Linked DNA regions of Homo sapiens: region 1 is linked to region 2. Evidence: promoter capture Hi-C in 16 types of primary human blood cells and fetal thymus (Javierre and others, 2016). All regions are on one chromosome and are shown on one strand. Each heading gives the region's core, a stretch centred on a gene start or on the middle of the fragment in contact. The rest is flanking DNA. Distances are from core to core; before and after follow the strand shown.

Region 1 (5,678 bases), core at 1,986-4,485, 1.3 Mb before region 2:
GGATCACGAGGTCAGGAGACCAAGACCATCTTGGCTAACACGGTGAAACCCCATCTCTACTAAAAATACAATACAATTAGCTGGGTGTGGTGGCGGGCACCTGTAGTCCCAGCTACTCGGGAGGCTGAGGCAGGAGAATGGCGTGAGCCCGGAAGGCAGAGCTTGCAGTGAGCCGAGATCGTTCCATTGCACTCCAGCCTAGGCGACAGAGCAAGACTCCGTCTCAAAAAAAAAAAGAAAAAAGAAAAAAAGAAAAAAAAGACACTGTCCAATTTTTTCCTTCCTGAGACCACAGAACTGGGATTATTTATACTTTGAAACATACCAAAACCATGAAGACATGTAAATATACAGTATATCTTAATAAAATGAAATAGTAACAATAGATATAACCCTACAGAGTTCTTTGGAGAAGCCCTTATTCCAATGAGCTGTCTAGTGATTTTCATCTTAAAAACTGCTAACTCTACATAGCAGTTTTTAAAGCCCAAGGCACGTAATAATATATTCAGACTAAAACGGACCCAAAGCCGCTTGCTTTCTTATTTCTGTTTAATGGTAGTTCTGTGGGCTGGAGATAAAAATCAGTGACCCATAACCACAACTTAAAATTGCCCTGAGCAAATAAAAACGTAGAGCAGCAATAAAATAGAACTCAGTCAAATTAACAGAATCACTATTAAGATTACTCAACTGCAGTTGCCAACTGTTATAAATGTTAGACACACAATTTTACACTGCTTCCTCTCGGAGACCTCCTATATAAAGTCATTCTCTGCCTACAGCAGTGGATTTTAAATTTTAAAATGAAACCTTTGAAAATTTGATGGTTGGCATGGACCTTCTGCCCCACAAAAATACACAATTTTAAAGGCTTCTTCAATCTTCGAAATTCCATTCATGGACTGTAAGTTAAGAGACCCCTGCACTATTATAGGCAGGCTCACACTTTTAAATAGAACTGAAAAGCTAAGATAAACAGGACACAGAAGGTAGTCAAGGTGCTTTACCTGACTCTCATTCCCCACAACCCTGTGGGATGAGTATTATTCCTATTTAATTGAGCTTAGTTTTCTCAGAGGGACTGAGTGATTTCCTCAGGCCATGCATCTATTAAATGGTAAAACTAGTTTGACTCAGTATCTTGAGCTCCATTATTCACCTCGACATACTTCTTTGAGTTTGAAAGAGGCTTCCTAGACTGTATTTCCTTGGTATTCATTTCATCATGTGCAAGATAAAAACTACCCAATTTTTGGCTGCCATCTTTCAGGTTTAAAGAGGTACTAGTGTTGAGTCCCTCCCCAACTACCAAGAGAGCTTTTGTCTAAGCATCTGGCAGGAAAGGCAGATTGCATTAGTTCACATATTGCAGTTTGAAATTAACACGTGGAAGAGAAGAAACCCAAGTTCTTTTACATAATGCAAAGTCCACATTGTGAAGAGCATGCCAGTGACCACTTCCCGCCATAATGCTCTATTTACTCTTGTAATATGCAACATGGTCCAAGCTCTTTGCTTATTAAATGGTTAAACAATAGATAAATACATATAACCAGAATGGGTTACTAAAGAGCTCTTCAGAAAAACTCAGAACTTTGGAGATTAGCTGCTTTTTGTAGGAAGAAAGTTTATTTTCATAGCTATTATAAAATAGGTGCTCAATATAAAAAATCTGGTTATCACTAATGCCACAAGCCAATACTATTATTTCTGCAAAGGGACACCTGCTTATTTTTCTCAAATTAAAAAATATATATATCAAAGCCCAGAAAAGGCTGGAGTAATAAAAAATTATAATTGATTTTTTATCATGTAAGATCTTAAAAATATAATTTAAAATATTTTTACTAATCATTAATAATGATTCAATAACTTTTTCTAGTAGAAATATCAGTTCTGCTACATTTTATTCTTCCATCTCACAGAAAGGGCAGAAGGAATTTTATGCAATATGTTTCCAGAGTCGATGTGACCTATTTGAAAAAGATGGTAGGAAAAAGAAGCCTATTATCGGTAAATATCAAATTTTCCCAAGCAGAAAAAGAAAAAGCTAGGGAAATTTTGCAGTGCTGCTGACCTAATTCTATGCTCTTTCTCTAAAGAAGCCTTTCTGCTTGTTTAACAAATATTTGAGCATCTATTACACGTTGAGTATGCAAAGATCACTAAGTCTTACTCCTGAAAAGACCAAGGCTGGAAGCAAAAGCTTGTTTAGAATTCTCTTCAAAGCCATTTGTATAGTAAAGAAATTAAACTCTCATTTATCCAAACTTTCAAAGTGTAAATACCATTAAAACTTTTTGGGAAGCCAGTGCTATTCTGGAGGGTAACGATGTGGGTAGGGACCAGAGTGAACTTCCTTAATAATCATAACAAGAAGAAACTATTTATATGAAGAGATTATCTTGTTATCCTCATCTACTGGTTCTATGCAAACAAAGTTTCTTCATAAGGAAACTAAAGGGAAGCATAGTCAAAACTGCTACAAGTTGGGCTGGACGTGGTGGCTCACTCCTGTAATCCCAGCACTTTGGGAGGCCAAGGCGAGTGGATCACCTGAGGTCAAGAGTTAGACGTGACCTGGTCACCAGCCTGGCCGACAAGGTGAAACCCCATCTTTACTAAAAGTACAAAAATTAGCTGGGCGTGCTGGTGCACGCCCAGTAATCCCAGCTACTCGGGAGGTCAAGGCAGAAGAATTGCTTGAACACGGGAGGCGGAAGTTGCAGTGAGCTGAGATGGTGCCATTGCACTCCAGCCTGGGTGACAAGAGCAAAACTCAGTCTCAAAACAAACAAACAAACAAACATACACAAAAAACAAACCTGCTACAAGTCTTTTCCTTGGAAAAGACTCACAATGACAGGAACTTTTATACTTTGTATATGGAAAACATGCACATACCTACCTGGTATTGCAAATAAGCGTGTTAGTAAAAGGTAAATGTTACATTCCTTTTTATTCCTAAAATTGACTTTTGTCTTAAGGGAAATGTTAATGTGTAACACACCCTTTGAAGCCAAAATAAAAACTTTTCGATCAGGTGTAATAATTGGGAAAAACACTCCAGACTGAACAAAACTGAATTACACATACACAGATATTAGTTAGTAAGGTGAGCAAAAAAAAAAAACAAAAAAAACAAAAAAACCCAATACATTTTTTATTATAGAAAAAAAAAATCACATTTTCAAAATTTAAATATTTGGCCGGGCGCGGTGGCTCAAGCCTGTAATCCCAGCACTTTGGGAGGCTGAGGAGGGCGGATCACGAGGTCAGGAGATCGAGACCATCCTGGCTAACATGGTGAAACCCCGTCTCTACTAAAAATACAAAAAAATTAGCCGGGCGCAGTGGCAGGCGCCTGTAGTCTCAGCTATTCGGGAGGCTGAGGCAGGAGAATGGCGTGAACCCGGGAGGCGGAGCTTGCAGTGAGCCGAGATCGCGCCACTGCACTCCAGCCTGGGCAACAGAGCAAGACTCCGTCTCAAAAAAAAAAAAAAACAAAAAACAAAATTTAAATATTCTTATTACCTTAGCAAAATCACAAAACAGACATTTGTCACTTGGCCCCAATAAAAGCAAGATATTCCTTTTTTCAACTTAGATACAAATAGTAGCTATCATTCTAAAGGTTTCAATAAGCAAAGAACAAAAAAATGCCCCAAGACAGATGCCTCATTGAGTTTGTGGCTGTGAACCCAAATAAGCATGTTTAAAAAATCACTATTCTTTAAAAAGACAGTGTCAAGTAAGTATCATTTGAGAAAATTACAGTTTAGGAACTGATGCTATTCCATTAGTAAATACAAATGTAAAGAAATGATAGTATCATCACAACTTTAACAAAAACCCCAAACCCACAACCACATCAGACATTATCCTATTGCTCATTATAGCACTTCTTCCATAAACAAGGTTCATATAGTAAGTAACAAACCTGGATTTCCATACTGAGTTCCAGATTCAGTAATCTGTCCAGAAAAATCGAGATGCTGCCCCTCTTTGTATATCAGAGCCCTTCCATACTGGTTAAGTGTAACCATTTAGTAAAACCACTTTAAATATTATTCCAAAAACTGCCAGCTTGGTTGGATTCTCTACTGGTTTATCCTCAAATTTAAACTATTCTTGATCAAAAAGCCCTACTTTATATGACAGATTAAAATTAACCAAAATGTAGTTTAATTCTTTTAAGCGCAGTGCTTCAACACAGTAAGTACTGAATACTTAAAATACTCGATTCAAACTGGAAAATCAAGCTTGAGTTGTTCATAACCTTTCATCATGGTTGTGAGTGTTCAAAATTTACCTTCAAGAATTCAATGCAGGAAGAGGTTTCATAGTTGTGACGCCAGAGTTTTCTGCATGGTTGACTCATTACATTAACATTATAGCGGCTAATCCTGAGAAGAGTACTATTTCTACAATGAGTATCCTATTACATCTCTCTTACCTAAAGTATGTAAAATTCCTTTATCCACAGATGTACATTTAAGATAACCAGCTATAGAGCTACTACAAATATTCTAACCATAAGTAAAACAGTAACACAATTAGTTTATATTTTCAATTAATATAAAATACAATACTAAAGTCTGTTATTTTTAACAAAACTGAACTGTTTCATAATCATTGTTGCAATTATTTTACATACACGTATCTATAATTGTCTTAACATCTTTTTAGTCATGACACCATGAAGACTTTTAAATTTGGAACACACAATGTTTAGAAGGAAAAGAAAAACCAAACAAAAAGTTAAGAGTAATGTAACTGATACTCATAGGGACCCTACAGTATAATGAAGCCAGACTGAATTGATTCTCACCAGTACATCATTGCAGATATCTCTTAGCTCCGTCTCAATTTTCTCTCTGTATTCTCGAGCCATCTGCTGTTTTTTCTCAGCACCTTCCGTCTTTTGTTCAATACTTGAGACGACCCTCCAAGATGACCTACGGGCTCCTACAACATTTTTATAAGCAACTGAGAGAAGATTCCTCTCCTCATTGGATAATTCAGCTCCTTGCTCAGTTACAGACTTCATGCAGGCTGCCATGTCATCATATCGCTCAGCCTGCTCGGCCAGTTTGGCCTTCTGAACCAGCTCATTTTTATCCATGACTGGATGTTCTGCAGGGGGGAAAAAAGGAGTATTTAAAATTTTTCCCATCAAAATAAACAGACTCAAAATTATACCTGTGGTAAATGAGTTTTTTAAACCTGAAACCTAACTGCCTGTGAAAGACTGTTCACATGAGGAATTAAAATGCAGCCTCACAAAAGGATAGTCAAAAAAGGGAAAAAAATTTAGCATACTCAGCATCAGAGGTAAACTTACAGCCATTAACACATCAGTGTAGCAAAACTTAAAATTTGTTCAGAAGACCCAAATTTCACATGTCAAAATTACTTCCAAAAGCTGCCTCAAAAACTACCCCTAATCTTACCTGATCAAAATCTCAACTCATTTCCAATACCACTAAGTGATCCAAAATTAAGCAGCTTTTCTTCCTTTAGTAAAAGCATTGTTTACAGAGAACATCTGGATTTCTATCATATTTCCAGAATCATAATTCATATCAGTTTAATGTAACTCACGTCTTTTTACTTTCATAATACTCTTGTCAAGAGTGATTACATTTTAGCTTTAGTGTTACCCCTACCCCAAA
Region 2 (5,708 bases), core at 3,209-5,708:
CCTCTGTGGACCTAATCTAAGAACCCATATTTTAGAAGAAAAAAAAAATGTGAAAAAAGATATGATGGGCAGGGCGCGGTGGCTCACGCCTGTAATCCCAGCACTTTGGGAGGCCGAGGCGGGCGGATCATAAGGTCAAGAGATCGAGACCATCCTGGCCAACATGGTGAAACCCTGTCACTACTAAAAATACAAAAATTAGCTGGGTGTGGTGGCGCGTACCTGTAGTCCCAGCTACTCGGGAGGCTGAGGCAGGAGAATCACTTGAACCCAGAAGGCAGAGATTGCAGTGAGCTGAGATCACGCCACTGCACTCAGGCCTGGTGACAGAGCAAGACTCCATCTCAAAAAACAAAACAAAACAAAAAGAAATATATGGGTGCATGAGAGAGCAGCCTACTAGACATAGAAATTTCAAAGCTCATGGGTATCTATATTTTTACAGGGTTAATAAAAGAGCAAAATTGGTTAGTAGTAATCTGATTTTTAAAAAATTTTGGAGGTTAAAGTGGTCTGCTTTGATATAAAACACTTTGGCATCTAATAACTCTAAGATGTATGCTATTGGGAGCCACTGAAGGTTTTTAATAAGGCAAATAACATAATCAGATATATCTTTTAAGATCGCTTTTCTAGAAACATTGCTAGATTAGAAGAGAAATTAGAGGCAGAAAGAACAATGAAAAGATTATTGTACTACCCATCTCTTGCCTGAACTAGAAACACACACAAAAATTGATTTAAGTGATATTCAGAAGTAGAATGAATTATTCTTCCTAAAAATTTGAATTTGGGACAAGGGGCAAGAACAGTTAAAGATGCCCTTGATGTTTCCAGCTCCAGTAACTGGGTGATAACAAGATCTAAAAGGCACACACAAGGTGCTCAGTACCTGGAGAATAAATAAATAAATCAGACAAAAATTTTGCTTCTCACATTAGATGTTTAACGGAAGTTTAATTTAACTCCTCCCACCAAGCCAGGCGACAACAACAAAGTTACAAACACAATATCCTCACAAAGTCAACTAGGTCATTAGAAGAGATAATGAATTCAGGCCCGGCGTGGTGCCTCACGCCTGTAATCCCAGCACTTTCGGAGGCCGAGGCGGGCGGATCACAAGGTCAAGAGATTGAGACCATCCTGGCCAACATGGTGAAACCCCGTCTCTACTAAAAATACAAAAATTAGCCGGGCGTGGTGGCGTACGCCTGTACTCCCAACTACTCGGGAGGCTGAGGCAGGAGAATCACTTGAACCCAAGAGGCAGAGGTTGCAGTGAGCCGAGATTGTGCCACTGTATGTACTCCAGCCTGGTGACAGAGTGAGACTCCGTCTCAAAAAAAAAAGAATAGAAAAGATAATGAATTCAGTTTCAAGATGTCCAGTAAGCAGTTAAAAATATAACACTGCAGAACACGAGTGATGGAGATCCCATTAGTGGTTGCCAAGGGAATGGATGTGATTATCCAGAGAGAACATATAGAGCAGCAAGACAACTGAGGATACAGTCTTAGAGAATGCTGATATTTAAAGGGCAGATGAAAGAAGAGAAGCCAGCTGAGATTAAAACAGGCTGAAATGGATGCAGGACAAGGAAAAGCAAAAGTAGGAATGATGTGATTTGGCTAAAGCAAAGGATCTAGACTCTTAAGATAAATCAGACTAAGAGGTTAGGAATCAATTTTGTGGCCAAAGATCTTCAAACATCGGAGGTCTAGAAGGCTCATACTCCAATTCTCCCCATTTGCCCCCAACCCCAGGTGCTGGCGTTCATAGCAGGGTACAGTTTGAAAATCTGTACCCCACAGATTTGGGGGTACAAATAGTCATGGAGAGTTTCTGAATGGGAATTAACATGAATAGAGGTGGCATTAGGAAGACTAATCAGAAAACCACGTATAGGATTAATTGATAAAAAACTAGATTTTGCAAGCAACTAAGGAACCAATTTCAAAGATGGAAATGAGGACTTGAATTAAGATGTGGCAGTTAGCATGAAAAAAGCAGCTTCAACAAGACTTCACCAGCCTGAGGTGTTGGCCAGGCTTTTTGGTAGGAATTGAGACTCTTTTGGGAGTTTTTTGGGGGACACAGGGTCAGTGACACTGAGGCACTGGTCTAATGAAGGATTAACTTGGCAATGGTAATTAGGATTGAATGGCAGGTAAGATAGGAGATAGAGAAACAACAAAATTATTATAGCCGCACAGGTGTAAAGTGATGAGAATTTGAAATAAAGTTTAGCAGTAGGCATTCCTTAGTGACATTCTGCTGTTTTTTCCAGAATGGTACTTCCAGTTTCCGACTGACTCAATTTCTGGTCACCCAGTTGGAAGACATGCCTGGGCATGTCAGGACAACAATTTAGGTCAAGATTTCCCAGCAAGCACTTACGATGCCCCAATCTAGGCTGGCATCATACCAGGCTCTTACCTCCTATCCAGCCCCAATTCCACCACTTCCGTTTCTTTGCCTTTATGTCTCTTCTACTTCTGTAAAATAGCTGTATGTTGTCATAGTCATACACTACTTGTAAGTATTATTTTCACTTCTATTCCCACAAAGTCTGACGGAACCAATGGGATACCCGCCCAGGTGCAAGAACTTGGTTTTAAATTTAGCTCCTCTACTGAGTCCTGGGCATGCCATTTAATGTTTTCTGGCCTAAACTTTACCTTGACAATAGACTATGAATTAGATTAGCAATAGTTAACTCTGAGAAATTGACAATAACTATGGACCCCTTTCTCAGAAGATTCACATCTGCACATACAAAATCTACATATCACTTCAGGAGATTTATAAAGCCCCTTCTAGTCTATCTATGGACCCTTTAAGACAGTGGGGGGTTTTTTGTTTTTGTTTTAATATGTGTACCAGGATCACCTGAAGTACTTGTTAAAAATGCAGATCTCAAGAGATTTTGATTCACTATGTTTGGGGTGTTGGTCCAGCAATTTACATTTTTTACAAAATACTCCAAGTGACTCTGATGCAGGTCTCCTATTATGCACTCTGGCATCTAGAAAAACAAAGTGCTTCAGGCAACCCAGCATCTCAAGTTAAAAACTTTTGGACCACTAAAATTCATTCTGAATCTAAAATTCTGTCTGTCCTTGCGGGTCTGTATCATTGAGATAGGAGTAATAAATAAAATGTAATATCCAGGTGTTAAGCCTGAATCACTGCTGGTGCCATTAGCATAAACAGCAGTCTGAATTTTCCCCTTTGAGTAGGGAAGTTGGTACTAAACGCATTTGTTTCAAAACAGGAAGAAAAAGCTTGAGGGATATTTACAGTTAGTTACTAAATGCTTACAAAAATCAAGTTAAATAAAATAAAATCTCAAACCTGGAATCTACAACTTTCTAAAGAAATGTAGGGCCAAGCATGAATCTCTTGGGGTGGAAACGTTTGTTTCCCCCAAATCTTCACAGTATTAAATCAAAGATACCACAGCAACAGGTTCCAGTAGTACAAAAAGCATTTCTCTTGTCCACAAAGGGCTTAGAAGTATTTGCAAAATGACAGTGTTTGAAAATTATACAGCAACAGTTTAAACTACCATACAATCCTACAGTCTAACAAATTCTGGTTTATTTATTTTAGGTACTTTTATCAGCATAAACAACTTGGATGAACAACTTGGGCTTATTAAGCACCTACAATTTTCGTGGCACTTTGCATAAAGCATTTTACTTAATTCTCTCTGAAGTATCACTTCCATTGTATAAAGGAAGAAAGTGACACCCCGAAGATTCAGTTAGTTAAGGAGCCGGGCCTGAGCAAAACTGGCCTCCTACCCTGATTTTTTCACTGGGAGGAGGTCATGAGGATTTCGTGTCCCCTTCTACCTGTCATCTTCACCCCAGCCACCTGTGTCAATTTCCACACGCGTTCTCCAACTCCTTGTCACCATCCCAAATGGTATGCACCTCTCCAGCAGAGCCGCCACAGTCCTCTTTCCTTGCCTCGGTTTCCCTGGCCAGGGCTCCAAAACAGGGAAGGAGGGTGGGAGAGCGTGAGGCGGATAAACGCAGGGGTAAGTCTCACCCCGGCCTGAGGCCTCCAAGCGTCGTCCTTGGCTGGCCCCGGGGCAGAGCAGCGAGCGGGACGCAAACCCAAAGTCAGCTCCTTCCTCCGCCCTCCCCGGGGACGGCCTCCCCGGCGCTCGCAACGACGAAGCCAGGCTGCGGCGAGGGCGGGCGGACAGGCCTGTCCTGACCGCGGCGAATAACATTTCCTACAGCGGTCCTGCAACTTGCAATCTAACGGGCTGGCGTGACTGCGGTGAGGGGGAAGACGCAACAGCAACATTTACCTCATCCTGATCCAGCCCGGCCGCTTCCGGCCTTTCCGGGTCGCCCATCGCGCAGACTCCGCCGAAGCTACGGGCGCTGAGGGAACTGAGCTCCTCAGGCCACCTCCAACTACGACAGCACCCAGGTGGTCCGCTGGTCCGCTGGGTCCGCCCCGCCCCCAGCTCTAGGGACTCGGCCGGCCCCGCCCCGCCGCGCCGGTCCTGCTTTCTCGCCTGTCCATTGAGTGACTCTCCCTGCGCCGGCCCGGCCCCGCCTCCCCCGCCTCGGGGCTCCGCCTAACTTCGGCCAGCCCCGCCTCCCCGCCTGCGGCCTAAGGGTTTCTCCCCGCCTCGGCCGACCCGCCTCCCCTACTGCGGCCTAAGGGATCCTCCCCGCCTCGGCCTGCCCTGCCTCCCAGCCTGTGGCCTAAGGGATTATCCCTGTCTCGGCAAGCCCCGCCTGCCTTGGGGCACCGCCTACCTCTGCCAGCCACGCCTCCCCTGCCTCGGGGCTCCGCCTACCCCGGCCAGCCCCATTTCCCCGCCTGCGGCCTAAGGAAATCTCCCTGCTTCCGCTGGCCCCGCCTTACTCTGTTGCACCGCCCAGTCGCCCGGCTTTCCACTGAGGGACGCCCCCTGCTCTGGACTGCTTAGCCTACTCCAGCTGGCCCCACCTCACCTCATCGGCCCCGCCTCCTCCGCTCGCCCACTCCGGGCGCCCACTCCTGAGGAGCTATCCCAGAGTCCGCGCGGCCTCGCCTTCCCGGCCCGCTCACCACCCCGCCTCGTCCCACCTCGCCTCGCCCTCCCCGGGCTCTAGCCACTTGGTGCGGCAGGTGTCCTGCAGGCCGGCTCGAGATTCCCGAGCTCGCCCTCGTGGTGTTCCAGGAACACGGTACTTTGCGCTAGCCTGGCCTGTCCTGAGAGACTGCGGGAGGCGAAGAGAACGCGCTGTTGCTGTGGGAAGCGCCGGGGACGGGACAGCTACACCGCCAAACACTTCGCTAGGGAAAGGGCTGGCTGGTTTCGTGCGTAAACAACCGAAAAGGGGAAGTGTCTGGGGGAAAGTGTGTGTGTGTGTGTGTGAATGCGGGTGAGTGAGGGGGAGAGGGACACGTTACTAAAGTCAGGCAAATATTTTGAAAAAAATATATTTTGAAAAAAATAGTTTGGTCTAACAAAAATAAAATGGAAGAGAGATTTGTTTAAGTAGTTTGAAGCTGAAAGATTGACGGGATCTTGCCATGACCTGAACAGCATGCACCTGTTTTGTGGCTGGCTGAAGGATGGTAAATAGGATCAAGATCTCACTTTAAGCGTTGAAAATGCTGAAAGCCCTTTCTCAAACCTGCCATAGCGTAGGGGTAGACAGTCTTTCTTAAAGCAACTACTAGGGGTCAAATGC

Evidence for each region. The method cuts DNA at HindIII sites, captures the fragments that hold promoters and counts their contacts. A CHiCAGO score of 5 or more calls a contact.
Region 1: a contact is called between a fragment that was not itself captured here and the fragment with the promoter of RRM2B in region 2, in 1 of 17 cell types (fetal thymus). The highest score is 8.4, in fetal thymus.

The regions. Positions count from the first base shown.
Region 1 is chr8:100,943,762-100,949,439 of GRCh38, forward strand. It overlaps YWHAZ (tyrosine 3-monooxygenase/tryptophan 5-monooxygenase activation protein zeta), which reads right to left. Exons shown (of 6, transcript NM_145690.3): 2 at 4,835-5,139. The coding sequence starts at 5,128. Among named protein-coding and RNA genes, the nearest start is that of YWHAZ, 5.4 kb to the right of the region's middle. The HindIII fragment of the contact is 2,056 bases long and covers 2,208-4,263 here.
Region 2 is chr8:102,234,503-102,240,210 of GRCh38, forward strand. It overlaps RRM2B (ribonucleotide reductase regulatory TP53 inducible subunit M2B), which reads right to left and starts at 4,459. Exons shown (of 9, transcript NM_015713.5): 1 at 4,325-4,459. The coding sequence starts at 4,372. It overlaps UBR5-DT (UBR5 divergent transcript), which reads left to right and starts at 4,949. Exons shown (of 3, transcript NR_125415.1): 1 at 4,949-5,198. RefSeq lists enhancers at 1,780-2,979, 4,283-4,382 and a silencer at 4,453-4,882. The HindIII fragment of the contact is 7,159 bases long and covers 3,283-5,708 here.